2 separate regions of the Homo sapiens genome follow, and region 2 is linked to region 1. Evidence: promoter capture Hi-C in 16 types of primary human blood cells and fetal thymus (Javierre and others, 2016). All regions are on one chromosome and are shown on one strand. The core of a region is centred on a gene start or on the middle of the fragment in contact, and the rest is flanking DNA. Distances in the headings are between cores, read along the strand shown.

Region 1 (2,766 bases), core at 151-2,650:
CCTATTTTATGGATGGGGAAACTGAGGCTCAGTGAAGTCAAGCAACTTGCCTAAGGGCTTCTCTTCAGGGGCAGAGCCTAATCTGCTCTTCCTTCCGCACTGAGCCTTACCCGAATGACTCCCAGCCAGGGGAACTGGGGAAGAGGGTGGAGATCTTAGGGTTCCAGGTACAGAAAACGGGGACGCAGATCATAGTCCAGAACATTCTTAGTCCCCAGTCTTTCTCCACATCCCTTCCCTCACCTCTCCTCTCTTCCCAAGGTCCCAACACGGAGTGGGGATGATGCTTGCTTTGGTGCCTCGGGATCCAGGTGAAAGGCATTGTTTAACGACCCCAGGCATTCTTGGGCTGAGAGGGGTCATAAGGCATTTATCAGGACGTCCCAGGATTGGGGGGACGGCATTGGGGGATTCTCAGCAGCTTGGTTGGATGGGTACTGAGAGGGGTGCCAGGGGTTTCCAGGGAACGAGAGCCAGAGGGAAGGTCTGGAGCCGCCGGGAGGCACTATGCTGCCACTCCCTGGGGAGGTGGGAAGGCGGGAAGGCTGCGGGGGATAATTCCGGGGACGCTGGGCTGAGCTAGGACAGCGTGTGTGTGTGTGTGTGGGCGGAGGGGGGGAGCTGCACCTCTTGGGGGGTTCGCAGAGCTGTGCTAGGGGAGCTGCAGGGCCGTCGGAGCGCGCGGGGACGGCGGCGGCGGCGCTACCTGGAGGCGCGGTGGCGGGCAGGTGCCCGAACTGCACGGCGATGCAGAGGTCGTTGTCCAGGGGGAACTTGTGGCAGTGCAGCATCTCAGGCCAGGGGAAGCCGTAGGCCTCCATGAGCGGCGCGCAGCCGGCGCGCACGGCCTCGCACAGCGAGCGGCACGGGTAGATGGGCCGGTCGAGACAGACGGGCGCAAAGAGCGAGCACAGGAAGACCTGCGTATCCGAGTGGCAGCGCTTGGCCAGCAGCGGCAGCCAGCTGCTCGCCTGCTGCTTCACTTCGGCCAGGCTCTCGTGCTCCAGCAGGTTGGGCAGCCGCATGCGCTTGTAGCCCACCGTGTGGCAGAGCGGCAGGTCGGCAGGGATGTCAAGGCACTGCGGCGGCTTGGAGTAGGAGCGGCCGTGCAGCGGCTCGGCCTGCCAGCCATAGTAGTCGTACTCCTCGCAGCGCGCCGGCGCCCAGTGCAGCGCCCCCAGCAGCAGCGCCAGCGCGGCCGTCCGCACGCCCCCCCCCGCCGCCGCCGCCCGCATGGCTGCGCCCTCTCCAGGTGCGCGCCGCGCAGCCCCCCGACGCTCGGTGCCCGGCGGCCCAGGTGTTCCGGCGTGCGCCCCCGGCCCTGACTCTACCCAGCCGCCGCCGCCGCCGCCGCGGAGGTCGCCCAGGTGGGTGGCAGCCTGCGCTGCGGGCGCCCCGACTGATCCTGGCGCCTCCCACCTCGGGGCTCCAGCCCGGGCCTCGCCGTGCGCCCCAGCCAATCTCCGGCCGCCTGGCCCCAGCTCCAAGGCGGGGAGGCAGTGGGGGCGGCCCTCAGCCCCTCCCGCACCCTGCCCGAGCGTCCCGCCCAGCGCCAGGTCTTGCGCCCCTCTCCCGGCTCGGCTCCCCTGCCGCAGCCCTGGCCTCGCCCAGCGTTTCTCCCCAGGGCTCCCTGCCTCCCTGGGCATTTTCCTCGACCCTCGCCTTCTCCATCCTTCCTCCTTATCTCTCTCCGCCACAGCCTCTCCTGTTCCTTTTCTCACTCACTTCACTTGCTTATCTCTCTGCCTTGGCTTTTCTCCCTCTGCTCTGTTTTCTCTTCCCCGACACCTCGGTTCCTCTTCTCCCTGGTGGGAGGCTCGTGCCACCCCACACCCTGGATCTTCTGGTCCTCCTGGCAGGTCTTCATTGAGCTTGGTGCCAGGCCCCATGCTGGCTGCTGGGGAATCAAAGATGGATATGACCCAGAACCCACCTCCAGGGCCAGGATAGTCTAGTGGGGGTGAAGGTAATCATAGCTTCTATTTAGTGAGCTCTTACTACCTGCCAGGGACGGTGCAAGGTGCAAGGTGCGGTGCAAGGTGCGGTGCAAGGTACGTTCCAAGCTTATCAGCTATTGCTAATGATAGCCAATACTTAGTGGGTGCTAATTGTGTGCCAAGTCTGATCTGAGCACATTGCATAAACTCCCTCAGCTAATTCTCACAATAAGGCTAGATGGTGGGTAGGTACTATTATTGTCCCCACCTTACAGATAAAGATCCTGCGGCAGAGAGGTTAAGCACAGATTAGAGCTGGGATTTGAACCCAGATAGTCTTTTTCGAGAGTCAGAGCCCAGAAACAACCAGGAGGCCTGGATTCTGAGTCTGTAGGCCTAATGACCAAGGGGATAGGGAGTTCAGAGAAGTGGAGTAACTGGCCCTTGGCCACACAGCTCATATGTGAAGGAGCTAGGATTTGAATCCAGATGTTGGGCTACAAAGGCCAGGGCTTAACCACTCTGTGGTAAGATAACTTCCAACCCATGGTAGGGAACACAGTGGGAAGAGGGGGAATTGATGGTGTGTCTGAGCAGGGCACCCAGGCAAGCATCAGAGGGGAGGGGACCTTCAGGAGCCCCATGCTTGGTGTCTTTCTCTCCTGTCTGAGTCCTGCCTTTCATTGGCTCTCCCTTGAGAGGAATTTGGACTGGAGGCTTGAAGGGAGGGGAATTCCTTCCTGAGAGCCTAGCCTGACACCTGACCTCCCAGTCTTTGGTGGGGAGGGTACCTTGGGGAGGTGTCTCCTAGGAGGGCGTGGGGAGCTGG
Region 2 (2,766 bases), core at 190-2,689, 78 kb after region 1:
AGCACACCCCACCACCCCTCAAAGAGACCAAGGGGTATTATGGGTATGTAAAAAGGCACTTGTGTTGGTGTTTCCTTTTTTTTATGTCTATTTTATTTATTTATTTATTTATTTATTTTTTGAGACAGAGTTTCGCTCTTGTCGCCCAGGCTGGAGTGCAATGGTGTGATCTCAGTTCACTGTAACCTTTGCCTCCCGGGTTCAAGCAATTCTCCTGCTTCAGCCTCCTGAGTACCTGGGACTACAGGCGGGTGCCACCATGCCTGGCTAATTTTTTTTTGTATTTTTGGTGGAGATGGGGTTTCAGCATGTTGGCCAGGCTGGTCTTGAACTTCTGCCCTCAGGTGATCCACCCGTCTCGGCCTCCCAAAGTGCTGGGATTACAGGTATGAGCCACTGCTTCCGGCCTTATTTTTATTTTTTTAAGAGACAGGCTCTTGCTCTATTGCCCAGGCTGGAGTACAGTGGCACAATCATGGCTAGCTGCAGCCTTGAACTCTTGGATTCAAGTGATTCTCCTGCCTTAGCCTTCTGAGTAGCTGGGACCACAGGCACACATCACAACGCCCGGCTAATGTTTTCATTTTTTGTGCAGACAGGGTCTTGCCCAGGCTGGTCTTGAACTCCTGGGCTCAAGCAATCCTCCCACCTCAGCCTCCCAAAGTGTTGGGATTACAGGTGTGAGCCACTGCACCTGGTCTCCTTTTTATTAAACAAATAGATCATTTAGTTGGAATTTATGATGTCAAAAGTGCGAAGGTGGCACCAGAGCCAGACCTGCCATCCTTGGAGAGTGAGCATACCGGTTTGGCACCATCTGCTTGTGGTTTTTGAGTGGTGGTGGTAGTGGTGGTGCGTGTATGTAAACTCGGGTTGCAGAGGAGAGAGGGAAGAGTAAAGGGTGGGGACCAGGTCCAGGAAGAGCAGCAAGGAGAGACTGGCTTCAATTCTGGAGCTGCCTGAAAGAAGGGACCCCAGGCTATGGCTGAGAACGAAATGTGGGCACGTATTTAAAGAAAGGAAATGATTCTCTGCGGTCGGCAGGATCTTTGTCTAGCTAGTGGGGTTCCAGGAAGTGCAAAGGAGAGGGGAAAAGAGGGGCCGTCCGTGCAAGCCTGACTGTGTGTATATGGGGGGGGGGCACACAGAGAGGAAAAGGGAGAGAAAGAAAAGAAATTATTCTAAAGAGGAAGCTGGGGGCGGGGCGAGGGAGGGGTAGAGCCGGGGCACTGGGGGTGGCTGGAAAGGTAGAGAGGCCTCACCTGCGGGCCTGCGAGCGGCTCGGGAGCGGTCAGCCTTGCAGGCTGAAGCGTCTTGCCCCGGAAAAATTCCTGCCCCACTGTCCTTCAGGCTGGATGTCCCGGGGGCCACGGAAGCGAGCGCAGAGCTCCGGGGCTCTCACGAGGGGGAGGGCAGGAAGGGGAGGCGGGGCCTCGCGCGGGGCGGTAGCCGAGCCTGTGGCCCGGGCGGGGCTCCTCTCCGGCGGCGCCGGAGTCTGGGGGCCGCGGCTTCCCCCTCCCGGCCAGCGGCGGCTCCTGGCCCCTCCTCCCCCGGCCGCCCCCATCCCCGCCGCCGCCGCCGCCAAAGCTAAACCCGGCCGTTGCCTGCAGGAGCCGCGGCAGCGGGCGATCGGGCCGTGAGGAGCCTCGGGCGCGGCCTCGCCTCCCGGGCCCGGCGCCTGCCTCAGCACAGCGGACAGCGCCGCGCCCCTTGCCTGGACCCAGCCGCCCGCCCGCCCCCGGCCCACCTGAGCCCGGGCCCGCGGCGCCCGCATCAGCACTGCGGACAGCGCCCCGGGCCCCAGCTCGCCGCCACCGCCGCCGCCCACCTGCTCCCGGGGTCAGCACCGCGGAGACCCCCCTCGCCCGGCCCCGCGACAGCCTCCGAGCGCCCCCGGATCATGGCCACCGAGGTAGGGGCGAGCGCCCCACCCGCAGGCAGTGCCCGATTGCCGCGGGACCAAATGCCCTAGGGGTGGGCTGGGCAGGAGTGGGAGGCGGGAGTTGGGGGTGGGATGGGGTGATTCCCCAGGTCAGGTCTGGAGGGAGGAGGTAGGGGCTTAGTGAGGGCTCATCTCCCCCTTGCGTGTCAATCTTCCCCTCGCCCCACCTGAGCCCCCAAGCTGTCCGCGACACTTGTTGGCATTAGCGCCAGGGTTGCTTCAGGGCCCCAGGCTGGGGTTTCCCCTTCCCTGGACTTCACAAGTCCTGAAACCGCTTTCCTAGAGGGTTGGAGACGCGTGTGTGTGCGTGTGTGAGGGGAGGGAAGGCGGCTGTCCGCTGTTGCTATGCAGTCAGCTTCTGAACCCAAAAGCTTGGCTAAGGGATGACAGACTTACCTCTACATCCGCATTTCCTTTGCGGGAGGGAGGGGACAAAGACATCCTCAGGCTGAGAACCCAAATGGTTGGTCTCCACTTTTGCATATCACCCTTCTTGCTTTTTTACCCCATTCGAGTTTTTTTTTTTTTTTTGTCCCAGGGTGTCCAGATTTCCCCTCCATCTGATGGGAGTTTCTGCCTTCTTCAAGGTGCACTGATAGGTGTGTCACCTTCAAGCACTTGAAGGCTGAACCACGGGGCCTGTTAGCTAAGGGCAGAATCTTGGTATAATGCTTGAGGTCGAGGATTCCCCCCTCTACCCCTAGGGATTGCCCTTTCCCCCCTCATTTCAGGAGGGAGATTGGGCTCTTTATGTTCCCACTTTATACATGATAAAGGTGATGTGTGGAAAACGAAAGGACTAATTTGCTACTCCACACAGCATG

Evidence for each region. Contacts are between HindIII fragments. The CHiCAGO score rates a contact against its expected background, and 5 or more counts as called.
Region 2: a contact is called between the fragment with the promoter of GOLGA7B here and the fragment with the promoter of SFRP5 in region 1, in 14 of 17 cell types (naive CD8 T cells, total CD8 T cells, non-activated CD4 T cells and 11 more). The highest score is 22.9, in naive CD8 T cells.

The regions. Positions count from the first base shown.
Region 1 is chr10:97,770,599-97,773,364 of GRCh38, forward strand. It overlaps SFRP5 (secreted frizzled related protein 5), which reads right to left and starts at 1,401. Exons shown (of 3, transcript NM_003015.3): 1 at 707-1,401. The coding sequence starts at 1,235. The HindIII fragment of the contact is 8,141 bases long and covers 1-2,061 here.
Region 2 is chr10:97,848,404-97,851,169 of GRCh38, forward strand. GOLGA7B (golgin A7 family member B) reads left to right here and starts at 1,440. Exons shown (of 5, transcript NM_001010917.3): 1 at 1,440-1,912. The coding sequence starts at 1,901. It overlaps GOLGA7B-DT (GOLGA7B divergent transcript), which reads right to left and starts at 1,395. Exons shown (of 3, transcript NR_108035.1): 1 at 1,263-1,395. The HindIII fragment of the contact is 7,033 bases long and covers 1-2,311 here.